Linked DNA regions of Homo sapiens: all the other regions are linked to region 1. Evidence: promoter capture Hi-C in 16 types of primary human blood cells and fetal thymus (Javierre and others, 2016). All regions are on one chromosome and are shown on one strand. The core of a region is centred on a gene start or on the middle of the fragment in contact, and the rest is flanking DNA. Distances in the headings are between cores, read along the strand shown.

The links. Contacts are between HindIII fragments. The CHiCAGO score rates a contact against its expected background, and 5 or more counts as called.
Region 2: a contact is called between a fragment that was not itself captured here and the fragment with the promoter of RGSL1 in region 1, in 1 of 17 cell types (M0 macrophages). The highest score is 5.2, in M0 macrophages.
Region 3: a fragment that was not itself captured here is called in contact with the fragment with the promoter of RGSL1 in region 1 in 4 of 17 cell types (M1 macrophages, M0 macrophages, M2 macrophages and 1 more); the score reaches 13.6 in M1 macrophages.

Annotation. Positions count from the first base shown.
Region 1 is chr1:182,448,890-182,451,410 of GRCh38, reverse strand. It overlaps RGSL1 (regulator of G protein signaling like 1), which reads right to left and starts at 1,265. Exons shown (of 22, transcript NM_001137669.2): 1 at 1,233-1,265. The coding sequence starts at 1,245. RefSeq lists an enhancer at 820-1,427. The HindIII fragment of the contact is 4,233 bases long and covers 1-2,012 here.
Region 2 is chr1:182,621,062-182,623,582 of GRCh38, reverse strand. No RefSeq gene overlaps it. Among named protein-coding and RNA genes, the nearest start is that of LINC01686, 7.2 kb to the right of the region's middle. RefSeq lists an enhancer at 706-765. The HindIII fragment of the contact is 2,162 bases long and covers 180-2,341 here.
Region 3 is chr1:182,583,682-182,586,202 of GRCh38, reverse strand. RNASEL (ribonuclease L) reads left to right here. Exons shown (of 7, transcript NM_021133.4): 2 at 1-876; 3 at 2,037-2,122. Among named protein-coding and RNA genes, the nearest start is that of RNASEL, 4.3 kb to the left of the region's middle. The HindIII fragment of the contact is 3,899 bases long and covers 1-2,521 here.

The sequences.
Region 1 (2,521 bases), core at 16-2,515:
AGAATCTACTGCAATGGTAGAATTCATCACTATCTCCCTATACCATCACGTATATCCTCCATTATTACAATTAACAAGTCTGACTGTTTTTATCCATCGATATATCTGTCTTCCTCATCAGACTGAGCGTGTGAGAGGAGGGACTTTGTTTTTTCACCTTTCTTCCTCTAGGCTCTAAAAGTGTTTGCACAATGTCTAAGTTCTGTAAATGTGGAATAAATTGTTCTTTCAAAAGATAATCTTCAATCTTTTTTTTTTTTTTTTTTTGCCAAAGTCTCACTCCGTCACCCAGGCTGGAATGCAGTGGCAAGATCTCAACTCACTGCAGACTCTGCCTCCCAGATTCAAGTGATTCTTGTGTCTCAACCTCTCCAGTAGCTGGGATTACAGTGCATGCCACCACACCTGGCTAATTTCTGTATTTTCAGTAGAGATGGGGTTTTACCATGTTGGCCAGGCTGGTCTTGAACTCCTGACCTCAGGTAATCCACCTGCCTCAGCCTCCCAAAGTACTAGGATTACAAGGGTGAGCCAACGCTCCCAGCCAATGATTTTCAATCTTTTGGACTTTTGTTTGTTTATCATTCATAGAGTCTAACATGGATTTGTTGAATGAGTATATTACTGAGCCCATCTGAATACAGAAAAGTGGGGTTTGGCAGAAATTCCCTAGTGATTGTTGTTCACAGCTACACACACCGCTGGTGGCAAGGGGCCTGACTATGCTAGGGCTTGCCATTGCCAAAACAGTCTTAAGGAGATATAGAGACAAGGCTCTGTACATCCTTCCCTTCCTCATCCTCTCATTTCTCCATTCTTGTTTTTCCTTCTTACCTGTTCTGCCTTCAAACTTCCTAATAATTTGAGAAGGCTTTTAGCACCCATTCCACGCCATAATAATATTGACTTGGCAACAAATGAAATCACTGCATAATCTCAAACCCCATACCAGTCTTCTCTCTGGAGGAGAGGTGGCCCAATCCACATTTTACTTCCTCCCTCTTGCCTTAGTTGTCTTATGAATAAGGCCCTGTACTATCCTCAAAGATCTGGTGGCAGAAGGTAGGAGGAAGGGGAAGAAGGAGAAAGAGAAGGAAAACAAAGGCATGAATAACACAAAAGTCACCCATGGTGCCCCTGAATGGCTCAGATCTATTAACAATTGGGAAGATGAATGGTTTGCCTTATTTGAGAGACTCAAGGCCTTGGAGACATCCCTGGCAGAGACTCACCAGCACTGCTCATGTTGCCATGCTCTTCCTGACACAGTAATTTGTTAGGGGCAGAATTACCCCCCAGTCAATAGAACTATATCCATTGTGAACACGTAATGACACCTTCTCTAAGGGGTTCCAGATTCTATCTGGCAGTGATCTACTTACCTCTGGTGTAGGCCTTAATCTGAAGATAAGTCTTTATCTTACCTAATCTGCTGAATCCCCTTGGACATACAAGACTCCTCCTATACTTAAGCCTTTAGTTCATACTATTTTATTTGACAAGTTCTTTATAATTGTGCCCAAGATCTCTTGTCTGCTCCAACCTCTCCCATGCTAGGGTGACTTTTGCATTGCTAAACTCAGCTCCTAAGGGTCTTGTAAACGGTTACATTTGATGTAATTTTAATAAGCAGTAACTCCTGGATATTCTGCCCATTTAAAACATCAACCTCCATTGCTTCAGCCCAGGAATTCAAGGCTGCTGTGAGCTGTGATCACACCACTGAACTTCAGCTTGGGCAACAGAGTGAAACCTCATCTTTAAAAAATTAAAATTAAAACATCAGCTTCCAAGAGGTTTGAACTCCCTTCCTCTGAAGACTCTTCAGGCTCTTGGTTTTCTCATTAAACAACTCTTCATTTCTCCTGTTCTTCCCTAATAGGAAGTAAATATTAAGATGAGAGACCAAAAGCCCTATAATCCTTCAAACTTTAGCCAAGAATTACTGAGAATAGAATTCTTCAGTGTCACACCCAGAGAGGGCTTTTAAGTCTTGGGATTGTAGGGAAGCTTATATAATGTCCAAAAGGCTTTCCTATGGGGGGTGGAGGGAAAACTGAAAACTGGAAGGATTATTGTTAATAATGAATCGTCAATACAATATCACTTACATTTGAAAAAGTGCTGTACTTTCTTTAGAATATATAAAGACCAAATACTGCATTTTAAAGTGATTTTAGTGAGAAGAGATTCTTGCTTTACATCTTGATGTTCTATGTATTGCAAGATGAGATTGTAGCTTACCATACTTCTTCAATCTGTTATCAATTACCTTATTCACCTTATTAATTAGTCAGTTTAACATGCACACATCTTAAGAGAGTTCAGTGTGAAGCACTGCATGATTCTACAATATCATATTATTCCTTGAATTATCACCTCTTTTGCAAAATAAATAGAGTCAAGGTCTCCTCCTAAAATAATGGCATATACAGTAGTAATATATGCTCACATTCCTTAAGATGGAATGCTTTCAGACTGTTTTCAATCAAGCTGTGTGCACCTACCCTTGAGTCCTAAT
Region 2 (2,521 bases), core at 11-2,510, 170 kb before region 1:
AATCAATGGATGGCAAAGACCACCACTTACTTGGCCTCTCCCTATACCTTGCTTGGCTACCTCCCCCCGAGTTCACCTTTGCCTCAGTGGCAAAGGAAGACCCTCCTGTTGCCATGGCTACTGGTCCTCTCCCCATACCACTCTCCTGACCTCCCACCACATCCCCTGCACTTCAAGCTTGAATGCGCCTCAGCTGCAGATGCTCTCACCTCCCCCTCCAGTCCAGGACCTCAGCCTTTCCGGTCCTTCCTTTCATTCCTTCCCACAGTCCTAACCCTTCGCTAGGAAGCCAGAGCTGCTCTGTCCTGGGCCCAGAGCCAGGTTATATTTTGATGCAACCCTAGGGACTCTTTGGGGTTTTTTTCCAGGTTTAGACTTATCGAACATCTTGCCAGACCAGGGAATATAGTCAGATTTCTTTTTCTGCTGCCTATACAGGAAGGAGAAGTGGGGGAGTCCCCTTCTATTATTAGAGAAATTTTGGTTTGCAACAGAAATTCAACTCAAACCAGCATGAATAAAAGGGAGTTTTGGTGAGAATACTGGAACACCCCATGGAATCTGTGAGCAGAAACAGTGAGCAGAACCCTAAGGAATGCAGAAGCCCTGACTTTCCTCCTCTTTTCAGTTTCTCTCTGCGTACTACCTTTCTCTTTTCTTGCTGACTGTTCTCTGTTTACCAGTTCACATGGCAAAAAATGGTCAATAGTTCCCACATTTACATCATCAGTCTTAACACAAAGATATGGCCAGGTGTGGTGGCTCACGCCTGTAATCCCAGCACTTTGGGAGGCCGAGGCGGGCGGATCACGAGGTCAGGAGTTCGAGACCAGCCTGGTCAACATGATGAAACCCCGTCTCTACTAAAAATACAAAAAAATTAGCCGGGCATGGTGGCGGACGCCTGTAGTCCCAGCTACTTGGGAGGCTGAGGCAGGAGAATCGCTTGAACCCAGGAGGTGGAGGTTGCAGTGAGCCGAGATCGCACCATTGCACTCCAGCCTGGGGGACAAGAGCCAGACTCTGTCTCAAAAAAAAAAAAAAAAAAAAAAAAAAAAAAAAAAAAAGACACTGAGAGGGAAACCAATCTATCCTTCATCCTGGGGTCCAAAATTCCCAGGTAAGAGACGGATTGGCCCAGGTTAATTTGAATGTGCTCAATCTGGTCAAGGAGGCAAGATCACATTATCAGAGCACAGCATTTCTGCTGCAACCACATGGACACAAGAAGGGAAGGGAAACTTTCTACAGAGGGGTACTGGGGCCAAAATCCAAAAGGTGTCTCCCAGACCCTCTCATGGAGCAAATTTTAACAGCCACCTCTCTAGGAAACTGGTCCCCCTCATTCTACATCTAGCCACCTAGGCGATATTGCTGATAATATGCTATTTACAGTTGTATCTTTTGCACCACTCCCCACCCCTCCTTAATCTCCTGGAGGACAGGGGCATGCTTAGGGTTGTTTGTGCCCTCCAGTGCTTATCCAGTGCCTGCACTCAGCAGGTTCATCTCATGTCTGCTGAGAGAACATGATGTTTACATGTACCAAGAATTGTTCTGGGCCCTTGACACATTAACACATAATCCTTGAAATAACCCTATGAGGTAGGAACATGTGAGGAGGGCGAGGAGGGTATGTAACTTGTCCAAAATCACAGTTAGTCAGTGTCATAGCCAGGATTCAAACCCAGGTGGTCTGGCACTCTGCTCTTAGTTCCTGGCCAGTAGACTTCACCACCTCTCCATCTGTGTTTGGTGAGTTTCTAGCTTAATCCTCAGGTTTTCTCAAGAGAGCCAAATCTGTAGATGCACACAGGCAGCGGTGTTTCTGGATAAGAAGGGAAAGTAGGAGTCAGGAGGTACTTGGCTCTTCCAAGATGGAACTGGCTACTCTCTCTTTCATGCCCATACCTTATCTGTGCACAGGTAGCACCTGGAACTTTTTCCTTCACCGATTTGTTTATGTGTCTGTTTTACATACATGACCAGTAGTGTTTGTTTTTAAAATTTATTTAATATAGTCTTATTTTAAATAAAAGTATTGCTGGGCAACTGGTTTTAAGTTGTATATGTAGAAGAAAATAATAAAATTAACTATCTCTTATTCATCTCCCCTCTGCTCCACCTCCCTTTCTCCAGTGAAAACCATTTTCAATGTTAAGGTATTCATCTGGTACTTCCCCTATATTTCTAACTCACAGAGTATGTGGCTGTCTCTTGAGTCATTAATTTCAGACATTAGTTATAGACTTCCTATTATGGTAATGAAGATATTAAAATCATGTACATTTTCCTCTTTTCTGCTAGCTCCCTAGTCCCCCAATTTCTGGTTAACAAAGCTTTTGTTATTGTGATTGTATAAATATTGTTTGCTATTAAGCCAAGTAATATATCTTATTTACCTGTACATTCTTGCATATTGTTTTTCTTTTTTCCTGGAGTTAGTAATTGCCTCTAATTTTTATTTGTTTAGTTTTCTATCAGCACCTGACTAAGCCCTCCCATGTGCTCCCACAGCTCT
Region 3 (2,521 bases), core at 17-2,516, 130 kb before region 1:
GCAGAAATGCCTTGATCCATGCTCTCCTGAGCTCTGACGATAGTGATGTGGAGGCTATTACGCATCTGCTGCTGGACCATGGGGCTGATGTCAATGTGAGGGGAGAAAGAGGGAAGACTCCCCTGATCCTGGCAGTGGAGAAGAAGCACTTGGGTTTGGTGCAGAGGCTTCTGGAGCAAGAGCACATAGAGATTAATGACACAGACAGTGATGGCAAAACAGCACTGCTGCTTGCTGTTGAACTCAAACTGAAGAAAATCGCCGAGTTGCTGTGCAAACGTGGAGCCAGTACAGATTGTGGGGATCTTGTTATGACAGCGAGGCGGAATTATGACCATTCCCTTGTGAAGGTTCTTCTCTCTCATGGAGCCAAAGAAGATTTTCACCCTCCTGCTGAAGACTGGAAGCCTCAGAGCTCACACTGGGGGGCAGCCCTGAAGGATCTCCACAGAATATACCGCCCTATGATTGGCAAACTCAAGTTCTTTATTGATGAAAAATACAAAATTGCTGATACTTCAGAAGGAGGCATCTACCTGGGGTTCTATGAGAAGCAAGAAGTAGCTGTGAAGACGTTCTGTGAGGGCAGCCCACGTGCACAGCGGGAAGTCTCTTGTCTGCAAAGCAGCCGAGAGAACAGTCACTTGGTGACATTCTATGGGAGTGAGAGCCACAGGGGCCACTTGTTTGTGTGTGTCACCCTCTGTGAGCAGACTCTGGAAGCGTGTTTGGATGTGCACAGAGGGGAAGATGTGGAAAATGAGGAAGATGAATTTGCCCGAAATGTCCTGTCATCTATATTTAAGGCTGTTCAAGAACTACACTTGTCCTGTGGATACACCCACCAGGATCTGCAACCACAAAACATCTTAATAGGTGAGTCCCCAATCCCCAATTCTCTCTTAGAAATTGTGGGATCTTTGTTTATGATAGGAAAAGTTTTTCATTGCAGAGAGGAAAGGCCTAGAGTAAATGTGGATGATTCAATTTGTGGATCATTATTACAACAAATTCATAATTACAGTGCAGTGTCTCCTGCTACCAATTATAACTGGGTTCTGTTAGTCTACATGAAGGTTGGTAGATGCCAACAGAATACCAGGCTAGCCTTAGATTGCCATTGGCAAAATAAACAGATGAAGGCATGTCATGGATCAAAGTAGCTCCAGAAATCTGAGAATCCTAGAGGTGAGTTCCTTCAGACAAGGTGGCAGTAACCATGAAACTTACTGACAAAATTGAGGTCAAAGTTGAGGATGTCAGGACAAGATGTGACGTAGTGAAGACACAGACTCCAAGGCAGAACAAGTCAGAATCCACTAGTCCAAGCCAAACAAAGGGAAGGAAAATAGCATTTTCTTTTAAATGTTAAAAGAAAAGCAAGGCTGACCGTAAAGTCCCAGGAAGCAATATGGTGCGGGGGAGCAAGCCAGGGCTTCAGCGATGATTAGGGTGGCTTGAAGCCTAGTCTCACTAGTTTGTAGTTTTGTAACCTCAGACAAGTCACTTGATACTGTGAGCCTCAGTTCCTCACTTGAGGCTGATAATGCCTCCTTCGTAAGTTTGTTATGAGGTCTAAGTGCAATGATGAAATAGTAAGTCATTTGGTACATCATAGGTGCTCAGGAAAGGCTGTTCTTGCCTGAAAGGTCTAAGCAGAGTACATACCTTATCCATAGACATGCACTGAGATTTAAGCTCAGTGTAAGGGAACAGCTCCTTTACAAATCTGTGCTTTCGGCCCCTGGAATTGCATGAACGAGGAGCTGGTTAAATTTGTCCTCATCCCTTCCTACCCCCTGGCCTGGAAAAAATAAAATGTAAGTGCTGCTCTTGGCAGATACCTAACAGATCAAATGAAACAGTGCACATGGCAGTGTTTTGAGGGGTGAATGGCAAATACAGATATAAGGTTTATTATTGCCTTCCACAGAGATGATGATTTTTATAGCATGTTACATATTTATATAAATCAATTGACTCTCACTTTATGGAGAATGAGTATTTTCAATGTGCCTCTGCAAACTTTTCCTTAGATTCTAAGAAAGCTGCTCACCTGGCAGATTTTGATAAGAGCATCAAGTGGGCTGGAGATCCACAGGAAGTCAAGAGAGATCTAGAGGTAAATTCTACAATCCAGTTTACCTTTCTTCTTTCTGCTTCCTTATTCTTTCATGTAGTAGTCAGGGTTCTCTAGAGGGACAGAACTAGTAGGACATATGTATATATGAAAGGGAGTTTATTAAGGAGAATTGACTCACACGGTCACAACATAAAGTCCCATAATAAGCCATCTGCAAGTTGAGGAACAAGGAAGCCAGTGATGGGTCAGTCTGAGTACCAAAACCTCAAAAGTAGGGAAGCCGACAGTGCAGCCTTCAGTCTGTGGCCAAAGGCCTGAAAGCCCCTGGCAAACCACTGGTGTAAGTCCAAAACTCCATAAGCTGAAGAACTTGGATACTGATGTTTGAGGGCAGGAAGCATCCAGCACGGGAGAAAGATGAAGGCCAGAAGTCTTAGC